2 separate regions of the Homo sapiens genome follow, and region 2 is linked to region 1. The links are contacts of gene promoters, found by promoter capture Hi-C in human tissues and cell types (Jung and others, 2019). All regions are on one chromosome and are shown on one strand. The core of a region is centred on a gene start or on the middle of the fragment in contact, and the rest is flanking DNA. Distances in the headings are between cores, read along the strand shown.

The links. The method cuts DNA at HindIII sites, captures the fragments that hold promoters and counts their contacts. A contact is called where the count stands out against the background at its distance.
Region 2: a contact is called between a fragment that was not itself captured here and the fragment with the promoter of MAN2B2 in region 1, in 2 of the 25 tissues and cell types used here (dorsolateral prefrontal cortex and mesendoderm cells).

Annotation. Positions count from the first base shown.
Region 1 is chr4:6,571,697-6,578,154 of GRCh38, reverse strand. MAN2B2 (mannosidase alpha class 2B member 2) reads right to left here and starts at 2,966. Exons shown (of 19, transcript NM_015274.3): 1 at 2,807-2,966; 2 at 1,431-1,577. The coding sequence starts at 2,944. It overlaps LOC105374365 (a long non-coding RNA gene), which reads right to left. Exons shown (of 3, transcript XR_925098.3): 2 at 4,548-4,646; 3 at 3,817-3,964. RefSeq lists a silencer at 2,717-3,176 and enhancers at 2,465-3,233, 3,234-4,001, 4,002-4,770. The HindIII fragment of the contact is 15,458 bases long and covers 1-4,277 here.
Region 2 is chr4:6,428,385-6,434,842 of GRCh38, reverse strand. The region is part of intron 1 of PPP2R2C (protein phosphatase 2 regulatory subunit Bgamma); the gene reads left to right. Among named protein-coding and RNA genes, the nearest start is that of PPP2R2C, 41 kb to the left of the region's middle. The HindIII fragment of the contact is 5,863 bases long and covers 244-6,106 here.

The sequences.
Region 1 (6,458 bases), core at 1,717-4,216:
CTTATTTTATTAACTAATTCTAAACTTTAGAAAAGTTTCAGGAATAGAACAAAGAGCTCCCATATCCTTTCCCAAGGTTCACTCATCACTACCATTTTTAACCTATTTGCTTAACATCCCCGTCTCTACACACATAACACCTTTGTTGCCCTAGACACTACACACCTCAGTATGTGTACACACAGCTGTTTATAGGCTGTGCCTTTGGTTTGTTTCTTAAGGTGCACTATATGTAGATCATTCACTCAACAAATGTTAAGTGAGCACCTACTACACAACCAGCACTGTTCAGGCACTGGGGGTTCAGCAGTGAATGAAGCAGGCAACAATTCCTGCCTCCAGGGAGCTCTGCCACAAGTTTCCTGTCCAGGTCTTCACTGGGCCATGCAGGCCATGCTTCTCTTTGAGGGCTAGGAGACAGACCACTGGGTTTGGTGGGGTCCACCTGAAGAAGCATGGGACGCTCACAGGATATCCTGGAAAGGCCTGCCTCGAGTCAGGCATGCCTGGCTCAGAATCCCACCTGCCGCTTACAAGCTGTGTGACTGCAGGCCAGTGGCGTGCCCTCTCTGAACCTGGAATGTCTCTTTAACTTGAGGTAAGAACCCCACTATCTGGCAGCATCAAGTGGCCATTGGATGTCCGGCTCCTTCCCGTGACTCTGGCGGGGCCTGGTGGACGCCCTGCTCTCCCTTCTCCGCTTCACTCCCTTGAGCAAGTCACTTGGCGTCCCTGAACTTTATGTTCAGCAACTATTCTGAAGGCAGGTGGATACCTGGGAGGAAACTAAGAACCCCCGAGTATCGTCCTGGGTGCTCACGCCAGGGCTTCATTCTTGGCATGACTTTTCTGCAATGGGGCGGTCACCCCCGTTTAATAGAAGTGGAATCTGTGGCTCGCAGGGGCTAGTCGTGTCCCCTGGTGCGGGAGCAGGATGGGACCCAGGCTGCCTCACTGTGCAGCGGGGACTCTGACTCTCCATGCTGTATGAAGCAACCTGCTGCCTACCCTCAAACCACAGGGACTATCGCACCCTCATCAAGGGTCACCAGACCCTGGGCCCGGGGGCCAGGCAGATAACACAAATGAGAGAAGAGGGTGAGGGCTTGGGGACACCTGGGATGCCTGGTGTCAGGGGGCACTGCTGACTTAGTGCCAGCTGGCACGGAAGTGCACAGCTGGGTTGCCAGAGCTGGCAGTTTTTTCAAGAATAGACAGAAATTCAGGATTAAATTGAAAGCAATCTCTCCCAGGCATGGAACTCACCGTGAACCTTGATCTAAACAAGGCTGTGAATAGCCCGGTGGGGTTTTGGCCCTGTGGTTTATGCCAGCCTGGCCCTGGCCCTGGCTAGAACTGCCCCATTGAGTTTTCCACCTGGGTCTTTGCCAGGATACTGGGCCAACTGTGTCACCTGGTGACCTCATTACCTGGTATTTCTGCTGGTCCGAGGCGACGCCATCCCACCACAGCCGGAAAAACTCCTGCTCCACAGCGATGAACCGGCGCTGCTGGCCGCGGGCCAGCTCTTCCACCACTGAGGTGTAGACATTGGCGGCGTACGCCCGCATGCTTTCCTGGGGAGGGGACAGCATCATGCCAGCCCCGGTCCAACAAGACCAAGTGTCCCTGGGGCCCCTGCCATTCGCCAGGTGTGTCTGCATGGGGTTGGGGGCTCTGCCCTTCCTTCCCTGCTGCTCACCCCCCACACAGCTATTAGGCACTCGCTCCATACCAGGCTCTCCCCACTGGATGGGATCGTGCTCTCCTGGGGGAGAGGGACGGGGAAACAGACACCCTACATGGGCAGAGACAGGTGCCCTCCCAGCCCAGGGGTCAGGGACAGTTTCTCAGAGGGGTGAGCAAGCTGGGCCTTGAGTGTGCAATTTGGGGGGCTGGGCCCTGAGTGTGCCATTGAGGGGCAGCACAGGAAAGTCTTAGGCCTCAGTCGGGGTGTGGTCCAGTGACCCCAAAGGGGCCTGCTGGGGCTGAAATGAGGAAAGCTGGTGCTGAGAGGAAGAGCTCCCCAGGCTGTCCCTGGCGTCTAGGCGTCTGCCTCCCCAAGGCTGGGAGCTCCAAGGACCACAGCTGTAGTGTGTTCCCATCCGAGTCCCGAGGGCCCTGCACACAGGGTGCCCACAGAGTGCTTACATGAATGGAAGGAGCACCGAGCAGGGAGTCAGGAGGCATGAGGGTTATTCCCGAGCGACCTTGGGCAAGGCAGCAACCCTCTCTGGGCCTCGGTTTTCTCCTCTGGAAACTGGCTGTAGTGGGCATGCTTCCCCTACCCTTTACAGATGGGGAAACTGAGGCTTAGGGACCAAAGCCCCTCGCCCAAGGTCCTGAGCAGAACCAGGAGGTGACCACAGGTCCACCTTCACCCCTGTCCTGGGGGGCGGAGGACGCTGAGCTGGCCTCCAATATTCAGCCCCGCAGGGGACCAGCCCGGCCCCTTCCCAGCGGGCACCTGACATCCACCTGCTCTGAAGCCAGCCCCACCCTCTCCTGCTCCAGGCTTCCCTGGAAAATGGGTTACCACTGTCAACCCCCAAGCCCCTCCCCAGCCGGGAATGCAGGGGTCCCTCCAATCTGCACCACCCTCCAGAAGGGGAAATGGGGGTTCAGAGGCAGGAAGTGACTGGCCCGAAGTTAGCGACGCAACCAGTCAATGGCAGCGTGGGGTCCTGAACCCACTGAGCCTCCTTCTGCGCCGGCATCGGGCCCCGGGACGCAAACCCACACTCAGATCCCGCGGGGAGAGGGAAGCTGCAGCCTCAGGGGCGCGCGGGGCGTGGTCGGCACCTACCTGCACAGTGTAGACCCAGCCCACGTCCATGTGGCTGTGGGGCACCACGAAGGCCCGGATGGGGCCGGCGGACTGGACCCCTGGCGGTCGCAGCAACAGGAGCGGTGCCAGCAGCGGCAGCCAGCACAGCTGCCCCATCCCTGCGGCAGGCCGGGAAGGTGCCAGGCCCACTTCCGGGTCCGCGAGGGGCGGGGCGGCCGCGCGGGCGGGGACGCGGCCCATTGGCTGCGGGCGGGGGCGGGGCCCATTGGTTGCCGGCTGGACGCCGACCCCGGGAAGCTCGGGAAGGAGGAGCTGGAGGCGCGGGGCCCTCAGCGGGGCAGGGCGCCTGCTCTTTGCGGTTTAGCTCTCCATCCCCGTCTCCAGCTTTCTGGCCTTCCCTCCCTGTCCATCCTTTCAGCCCCATCTCCCCCAAGCCTGCCAGATCTCCCCCAACCAGAGGAGACCCCTCCTCGCCCAAAGCCCACGCTCTGGTGGTTCCTCTCGGAGCGTGTGCCTCTTCGCAATACCTGCATCCCGCCCTCTGGACTCGGCTCCGGGACTCTGAGGCTACCGTGCAAAATTCGGCTCAGCACGGACCCTGTGAGCTCTGCCACCAGGAACCTTCCCTGATAACCCTTTCCCTCCTCTCCCTGGCGTCGAAACCCCATCTGGGCGGCGCCATGGGGGGCTTGTTATGGGACTGTCTCCTTTTTTTTTTTTTGGACAGGATCTCACTCTGTCTCCCAGGCCGGAGTGCAGTGGCGCGATCAGGGCTCACTGCAGCCTTGACCTCCCGGGCCCAAGTGATCCTCCCACCTCAGCCTCCTGAGTAGCTGGGACCACAGGGGCACACTGCCACACCCAGCTAATTAAAAAAAAAATTTATAGAGATGGGGGCCTCACTATGTTGCCCAGGCTGGTCCCAAACTCCTGAGCTCAAGCGATCCTCCTGCCTCCGCCTCTCAAAGTGCTGGGATTACAGGCATAAACCAGCATGCCTGGCTCAACTGTCTCCATTTTAAGGAGGAGAACTGGCTTTCAGAGACAGTAACTGACTTGTCCAAGATCACGCAGTTAGTGGAGGAGCCAAGAGAAGCTTTCTGGGTTACTGGATGGTGACCTGGGGCGACATAGGTAACCTCGCTGAGCCTCAGTGAAATGGGTCCGATAGAGGAGCTGTGAACAAAGTAAGGATGCACCCAGGCTGAGAGCGTGAGCACAGCACCCCTTGCCTGCACTCAGGGGAGGTGCGGTCACATTGGTGCAGCCTGTTTGGGACTGTTGCCTGGAGTCAGCCCTGTCCACTACTCCCTGCCCAAGAAAGCAAGGGTCTGTGGCTTGGGGTTTACTGTCTGAGAACCACTTGGCTGTGCCCCTGCCTGGCATTTCCTAGCGGAACCAGAGCTGCAGCTCTGAGCAAAAGTGCTGGTCCTCTTGTCCATTATGTAACAAATGGAAACTGAGAACAGGTTCTCCAAGCAGGTCTCCCTCCTCCTTCTGTCCTGTCCACCCCCTGGGGACCCCTGCATCCCCATAGCCTCAGGTCAGATGGTCTGAGCCTGACGTGGACAGTACTCACTAACACATGTCCCCATGACCGGCCAGGCTCACAGCTGGGCTCCACTCTCCAGCCTCTGCAACCAGGTGCGGCCACGTGGCTAAGTGCTAGTCAATGGGATGGGTGGGGGCGGGCACTGTGCTCCTCTTCCAGGCTGGCCCCTAACAACCTCCTGTGGGTGAGCCCTGCTCTCTTACTCACCCACTGCTCCAGTGGAGGGCACTCCGAGGACCTCAGGGAGGTTAGAGCCACCAATGGAGGCTCTGAAGAACCACATGGAACCATGAGGAACCCAAAGAGCTGTGACAAGAGGGAGAAATAAGCTTTAATTGTGTTAAGCCACTGAGTTTATCGATAAGGCAGTGTCACAATCTTTGGCAGACTGTATCTGCCAAAGATGGGCTCCACAACATTACCCACCCCCCAAGCTCTTTGTAGAATTTGGTTGACGAGAAAAGCCACACTCTAAAATATCTCAGAACGTTTATTCTAAGCCAAATAGGAGTGACCATGGCCTGTGACACAGCCTCAGGAGGTCCTGAGAACAGGTGCCCAAGGTGGTTGGGCTATAGCTTTATACATTTTATGGGGACAGAAGTTACAGGCAAAGACATGAATCAATATATGTAAAGTATACATTGGTTTGGCCCAGAAAGGTGGGACATCTTGAAGTGGGTGGGTGGTGCTTCCAGGTCAGAGGAGGATTCAAAGATTTCCTGATTGGCAATTGGTTAAAAGAGTTAAGCTTTACCTGAAGAGTTGGAGTCGGCAGAAAGAAATGCTTGAGTTAAGACAATGGGGATGTGGAAGCTAAGGTTCTTGTTACATAGATGAAGCCTCCAGTTAGCAGGCTTCAGAGAGAATAGATGTGCATGTCTCTGGGGACCTTAAAAGGTATCAGACTCTCTGGAAAAGAGCTAGTAAGTAAGGAGATTCTCTACAGAATGCAAGTTTCCCCCACAAGAGATGACTTTGCAAGTCCATTTCAAAATATGTCAAAGAAAATTTATTTTGGGGTAAAATACTTTGATTTCCTTTAGGGCCTGCTCTCTGTCGTGTGTTGCTATACCAGAGTCATGTTAGAATCGGGTATCTGATTGCTACAAAAGTGTTCTGTCAGTCTTAGGAGGATCTCTATGTTAATGTTAATGCTGGTCAGCTGTGCCGAAACTTAAAGGGAGGAGGCTATGATGAGGCATGTGTGACCTCCCACTTCCCATCATGGCCTGAACTAGTTTTTTGGGTTTCTTTGGGGTCCCCTTGGCCGACAGGGGGTCCATTCTCTCAGCTGGGGCTTATAATTTTATTTTTGATTTACAATATGATCTTGACATTCTTCCTATTAGGAGATAGGGTCTATGTCTCCTCTCATTGAATCTTGTTTATTTATTGTTTTTTATTTTATTAATTTTTGTGTTTTTTAGAGATAGAGTCTTGCTCTGTTGCCCAGGCCAGAGTGCAGTGGTGGACTCCTAACTTACTTCAGCCTCAAACTCCTAGGCTCACGTGATCCCCCTGTTTCAGCCTCCTGAGTAGCTGAGACCACAGGTATGTGCCATCATGCCTGGCTAATGAAAACTTTTTTTTTTCTTTTTTTTTTAGATATAATATCCCGTTATGTTGCCCAGGCTGATCTTGAACTCCTGGGCTCGAGGCATCCTCCCACCACCATCTCACAAAGTGCTGAAATTATAGGTGTATGCCACCATGCCCAACTAATTTTTCTTTTCTTTTTTGTAGACAAGATCTCTCTATGTTGCCCAGGCTGGTCTCAAACTCCTAGCCTCAAGGGATTCTCCGAAAGTGTTGGGATTACATGCATAAGCCACTGTGCCTGGCCCATGGGCGGGCTTGTGACACACTTGTTACAAAGAGAATGTAGTGAAAGTTGTACTGTGTGACTTCCATGACATCCATGTTCACTGGAGCACTCGTGCCTGGAGGCCTGAGTTGCCCTGTCAGCAGTCCAACTACCCTGAGGCCACCATGCTGTGAGGAAGCCCAACCAGCCCACATGGGGCAGACCACAGGGAGCAGCTCAAGATCACCATGCTGTTTCAGCTCCAGCCCCCCATCTGACTACAACAACATGTGAGACCTCATGTCATTTTC
Region 2 (6,458 bases), core at 1,926-4,425, 140 kb after region 1:
CTCAACCTCACTCATAATAAGAAAACTCCAAGTTAAGATACTGTTTTTTTATCTATCGTATAGGCAAGGACTAAAATAGCTGATATTACCATGATGGTGCAGGTATGAGGGAAACAAGAACTCTCAGAAACATGGCTATGGATTTCACTTCTAATCCTTGTCTGATGGAAGTACACAAGTAAGAGGCCAGGTGTGGTGGCTCATGCCTGTAATCCCAGCACTTTGGGAGGCCGAGATTGGCAGATCACTTGAGGTGAGGAGTTTGACACCAGACTGGCCAGCATCACGAAACCCCATCTCTACTAAAACTACAAAAATTAGCCAGGCGTGGTGGTGCATGCCTGTAATTTTAGGTACTTGGGAGGCTGAGGCACGAGAATCGCTTGAACCCAGGAGGTGGAAGTTGCAGTGAGCCGAGATCACGCCACTGCACTCTAGCCTGGGTGACAGTGTGAGACTCTGTCTCCAAAAAAAAAAAAAAAAGAAAAGAAAAAAGAAATACGCAGGTGAGAAATGACATTTATCCACATTTGTCATAGCATTGTTGGTAATGGGAAAGAATGGAAATATCTGTAATGGCCATCACAGGGGACTGTTTACATAAATTATTCCAGAGCGTGATAGTGGATAGCAATGAAAAGAACGTGACAGCTCAGGGTGCGCTGATGTAGAATGATGTTTAAGATTCTTTAGGTGAAATGAGCAAGGTGCAAAATAGTGGATGATCCATGACATGCTTTATGATTAAAACATGGTATCTTATGACTGCTTGTGTGTAGACTCCTTCTGGTAGGATGATGCACCTGAAAGTGCTCATAGTGGTTGCCACTAGACAGGAGAGCTGAGTGAGTGGGAGAAGGGCCTAAGGGAGACTTATTTTCACTGTTAGCTTTTTTGTGCCCTTTGCATTTTATACTCATTTCTTAACCAAAGGCTGCACAGCTTAGGTTGTGACCATAAGCTCTAGAGTCAGCTGTTCGAGTTCGAACCCTGACTGGGCTGCCTACTCGCTGTGTGACCTTGGACAAGTTACTTCACCTCTGTGGGTCTCAGAGTTGTCAGATGGATGTAACAATGGTGCCTGTTTCATAAGTTGTTGAGGATGAACTGAGTCAATTCAAGGGAAAGAATGAGGACAGAACCTGGCACAAAAAAATACAGTCAAATTAGCTATTATAGTGACTGCATGTATAGTTGAACCCAGGGTCTGGATTTGGAACCCGTATGCCTATTGGCCCAATGGGGGGGATGACTTGGCCACAGAACAGCCACAGCCAGGCAGTAAAGGGCACAGGGAGGGGGCCTTAGCCTGGGGCTTCAGGGAAGCTGCCCAGGGGAAGTGATGCTGCTGGGTCTTACAGAATGATGGGAAAACTTGGCGGCACCGTTTCAGGCGACGCTACTTAGATCTGCAAAACTGTTGATGTCTTACAATACCAAGTGTAGGGCGGGGCTGGAGAAATGGAAACTCATGCCACCACTGGAAATGGATATGAAAGCAAACCATTTGCAAAGTCATTTGCCAATATCCAGATATGTCCAAGCAGCCCCTCTGTTCCCCTTCTAGGTAAATAGCAGGGAAGCCTTCAGCTGTGCACAGAGAGCCATTCAGCAACAGAGCAGACCCTCGAACAACACGGGGTTGGGGGAGCCAACCCCCTGCACAGTCAAAAACCCACATACAACTTTTGACTCCCCAAAAACTTAACTAATAGCCTCCTCTTGATTGGACTTCCAAAAACATGAACAGTTGATAAACATACATTTTGTATGTTATATGTATTATATACTGTATTCTAATAAAGTAAGCTAGAGGAAAGAAAACATCATTAAGAAAATCATAAGGAAGAGGAAATATATTTTCTGTTCATTAAGTGGAAGGGGATCACTATAATCTTTATCCTCGTTGTCTTCATGTTGAGTAGGCTGAGGAGAAGGAAGAGGACGGGTTGGTCTTGCAGTCTCAGGGGTAGCAGAGGCGAAAGAAAATCATGTATAAGTGACCCTCACAGCTCAGCTCATGTTTGAGGGTCAACTGTATTCTAAAATCCAAGAGGCTCTGAAAGCCTAAAGATTTTTTCCTAACTTATTTGGCAGTGAAACCCAACCTAAATTGATGTGAAACCATTTATAGCCCTTCTCTATCCCTGTAGTGTGAAGTTTCATATGTTATGTACAGAAATAGAAATGCGTATGCGTGTTGTCCCAGAAGCCCTTGGGGGTGACAGATGTCCTAGGTGACCTGTGCACCATATTACTGTACAGTCCAAATCCTCTATCCTGAAATACTGGGCCCACCCTTTGGGATTTGGGAGATGACAGTGAAGCTGGTGTGTGTTCAGGGAATTCCAGGTTGTTGAAGGTGCTGGAGTAGAGGGGAGAGGGGGAAACGAGGCAGCAGGCGCTGGGTCCCGACGGTCCTTGGACACCTACTGAGGATGTGGGTACAACACTTGTTTCATCCCTGGGGCTCAGAGATGTCTGCTGAATCAGTCGAGGGGCCTTCAGTCCACTGTGAGCCCCAGAAGGCAGAGCTGTGGCCTCCTCCGACTTGTTTCTCAGAAAGGTCACTTGGGCAGCAGGTGAACATGGCTCAGGAGAGGCAAGGGAGGGTGGGGACAGGTAGGAAGCAGAAGCCACTTACTGGGCAAAGACCATAGCCATGAGGATGGGGAGGGACTGAGTAGCCAGAGAGGCGCTCATCAAAGCCTACTGCTGTCATCTGAAGGTCTGGTTTCTCCCAAATTCGTATATTGAAATTAAGCCTTAAGGTGATGCGTTAAGAGGTGGGGCCTTTGGGAGGTGGTCAGGTCATGAAGATGGAGCCCTCATTTATGGGATCAGTGGCTTTATAAAGGGACCCCACAGTGAGAAGATGGCCATCTATGAACTATGAAGAGGCCCTCCCCAGACACTGAAGCTTCTACACCTCGATCTTGGACTTCCCAGCCTCTAGAACTGTGAGATGTAAATGGCTGTTGTTATAAGCCCCCCGAGTCTGTAGTATTCTGTGGGAGCAGCCCCAAATGACTAAGTCCACGGCCCATCCTCCACCCACTGAGGCCATACCACTGGGAAGGGTATCAGAGGCAGGGTTGGGGTCTTAGAGGTCCAGGGTCTCTTGTCCAGGCTCCCCAGAGGCAGGCCCCGAGGTGTGGACTAGAGTATAAGTGGTTTATCAAGGAAGTGTACCCAGGGGAGGTCCAGATACAAGTAGGAGGGGCTCAAGCACAGAGGAGCCAGGGAAGGGGGGGCTCTGGACCGAAACCATGTCCCCTCCACAGCTTTGGACTTAGCCCCTTGGGGACACAGACGTGGCTGGGGATGGGTCACAAAGTAACCAGGGTGACTGCCAGCCTGAACTCTGGGCTCTCCAGACTTCTGGGGACCGTAGTCTCAGCCTGAGCAGCTTTCTCCAAGGAGGGTCCTGGAAACCTGGGGCCTGCCCCTGATTTTGTCCTGGGAGCAGGGCCCCTCCATGGTGTTCTGGAGCCCCTCATATTAGCTTTTGAGGTTGATTGCTTAATTTTCAGTTTGGAGAGCCAGCAGACATCTTGTTGGTAGTTTGAAATTGGCCAGGGCAGGGGTATTTATACCATGGAAGCTGGCAGGGGCTGCCTTCCAGAACCTCTCTCCCTCCAGGTGCAGGGAAACACGGACCTGCACACCCTGGTGGCTTTCACACCTTCCCCTCCTCAGGCGGCTCGTCCCCTTGCTCAGTTATACTGATCCTTGGGCTTGCAGGCAGAACCATCTCTGTCATCCAGAATCTCCCTAGTAACCCCAACCCCAAAAGTGGGCTGCCGGAAGAGGCAGATGGCAGTGTCCCAGGGCTATGGAAGCCACTGATAAACATCTTCCAACAAACAGGATCAGGGATCTGCAAAGTTTTTTTTTTGTTGTTGTTGTTGTTTTTTTGAGACAGAGTCTTGCTCTGTCGCCCAGGCTGGAGTGCAGTGGTGCGATCTTGGCTCACTGCAACCTCCGCCTCCTGGGTTCAAGTGATTCTCCTGCCTCAGCCTCACAAGTAGCTGGGATTACAGGTGCCTACCACCACAACTGGCTAATTTTTGTGTTTTTAGTGGAGGCGGTGTTTCACCATGTTGGCCAGGCTGGTCTGGAACTCCTGACCTCATGTGATCCACCCGCCTTGGCCCCCCAAAGTGCTAGGATTACAGGTGTGAGCCACCGTGCCCGGCTGGATCTGCAAAGCTGTTGAAAGGAGGAGTGGATAGGATTACAAAGTTGGCCTGATTCTGCTAAATGAACATTTCAACATGTTTCCCCTCGTGCACCGAGGAGGCGTGCACTCTCCTCTGAGGGTCTGAGGCTTTCTTCACGGAGACTTTGTAAACCACTTCTCCCCAGCACTCTGGAGTGGGGGAGTCACGTAGGGAAGTCATTTCTCTCCTCTTGGACCTCTCAGTCCCCTTTGGCTTCTCGCTGATACCAGGCAGTCAGGTGGATCAGAGAAGACATGGACTCTGGAGCTGGATGTCTGGTGCAGGCAGTGTGGCTTCAGGCAACTTGCTTTGCCTCTCTGGGCCTCAGCTTCCTCCTGGAAAATCATGATGCTCATACCTAGGGTTTCATGGGGGTCAGGCAGGACAGTGCAGGTGCAGGTATGAGCACCATCCCATCAAGGACATAGTCCTGGCTGCTTTCAGTGATCTTGGTGCTGGGGAAAATGGGGCTGATTCTCATGGAAGAGGAAATGGATTCATGTGCCCACTTCTTAAATGGAAATTCAAGGCCTTGATCGTGGCCCACTTATGAGGTGGGGACTAGTGAGGCTTCAGGTGGTGTCCTAAGATTAGAAAACTGGAGCATTCAGTTGGGAGTCAGACCTCTGCTGATGTGCTGTGTGACGTTGGGCAAGGTGTGTGACTTCTCTGGGCCTTGTGTTCAGTAGAAGCAGGTCATCTTTCAATAGACCTCCTTCCCAGACCCTCTCGGATGCTGTGGGCATCCAGCTGGCCCCCATGCCACACCTGGCTTCTCGGGGACTGGCCTGCATTCTCACACCCGTTCTTTCTGGCAACGATGGGCATTTGTTTCTCCCCTGCCAGCAAACTCCTTTGGACCAAGAATTGATGCCATGGTGTTAGCATACAATAAAGCTTCAAGGAGCTGGTGAAACACTCTGAGACGGTCATAAAATTGGCTTTTCATCCCTGTCGGAGCTTTCTTATTACAGACAACAAGCAGTGTCAGGGAGCAGCACGGTAGATGCTGCTTAACCCAGCAGCAGGCGAGACTGAGGGGGTCTCGTGCTGTTTGTCACCACCGCCTCTCTGAGATCATCCCCAACCCATACTGTTGACATTCACTGGGATACCTGGCTACCTGTTTTGGGTTTCCTTACAATTTTTTCATTTGTTTAATAGTTTTTATTTTTCAAAGTCTTAAAAAACACAAGTCAGTGAAAGTTTTGGTCTTTGTTACTGTCTTCCTACCAGGTACGAGGGCCTGAAAGTCACTGTTAATTGATTATTGATTATCTGATTAGAACCGTACATTTACTTTTTAAGGAAATGTGAAAAATAAGCCTAGAAATGAAATCAAAAGTGCGGTGTTGAAGTTAGAAATGGCAGCGTCACGGTCAGGAATTAAAGCTGCTGCTTCTCTGTCACATGGTATACCACAGGGGGTGGTAGCTACAGCCCATGGGCAAAACTTGGCCCAGTGCCTGTCTTTGTAAATAAAGTTTGATTGGAACAGAGTCATGCCCATGTATCTACACATGGCATGTATCTACACATTGTCTGTGGATGCCTTTCTGCTATAATGGCAGAGGTGCAGAGTTGCCAAAGAGGACATATGTCCCACGAAGCCTAAAATATTGGCTATCTGGCCCTTTGCAGAAAGAATTTGCTGACCCTTGGTATAGAGGAAAGTTAGTGGCACAAGTTTAGATCGCCTATAGTGAAAGACCTTGCAGGACCAGGAGTCAGGCAGACCTGGGTTCGAAACCCGCTCTGCCACTTCCTGGTTGTGACTTCAAGCTGCTTGCCTTTTCCTCTCAGGGTTCTGTTTCTGTCTCTGTCAAATGCAGCCAAATACTGCCCAGTTTGCACAGCTGTTTTTGGAGACAGAGACACTCAGCAAGGGGTCCAGCCCCTGGTGGGTGGTATCCCAATGTCACTGTTGGCATTTGCAGTGTCAGTGATGTCTGGCTTATTCATCAGGCCCTCTTGAGTTTGCCCCAAACGAGTCAACCCTCCAGGGCTGTGAAACTTCTGCTGCCTTGATACGATGTGATTTCCGAACCAGAAAAATGGAGGAGGCCCTGGCCCCTAATGCTTAAGTCACGGGTGACTCTGTGCAATTGGTTTCTTCCCTGTCTCCTGTCCCTCTAAAAAGAACCACCTGAGCTCCCGGACTGTGCTATATCCAGGCCTAAAGGCTGGTGGACCAGGACACAGTCACCAGCAATCAGCTTTCATCGACTTGGCTGG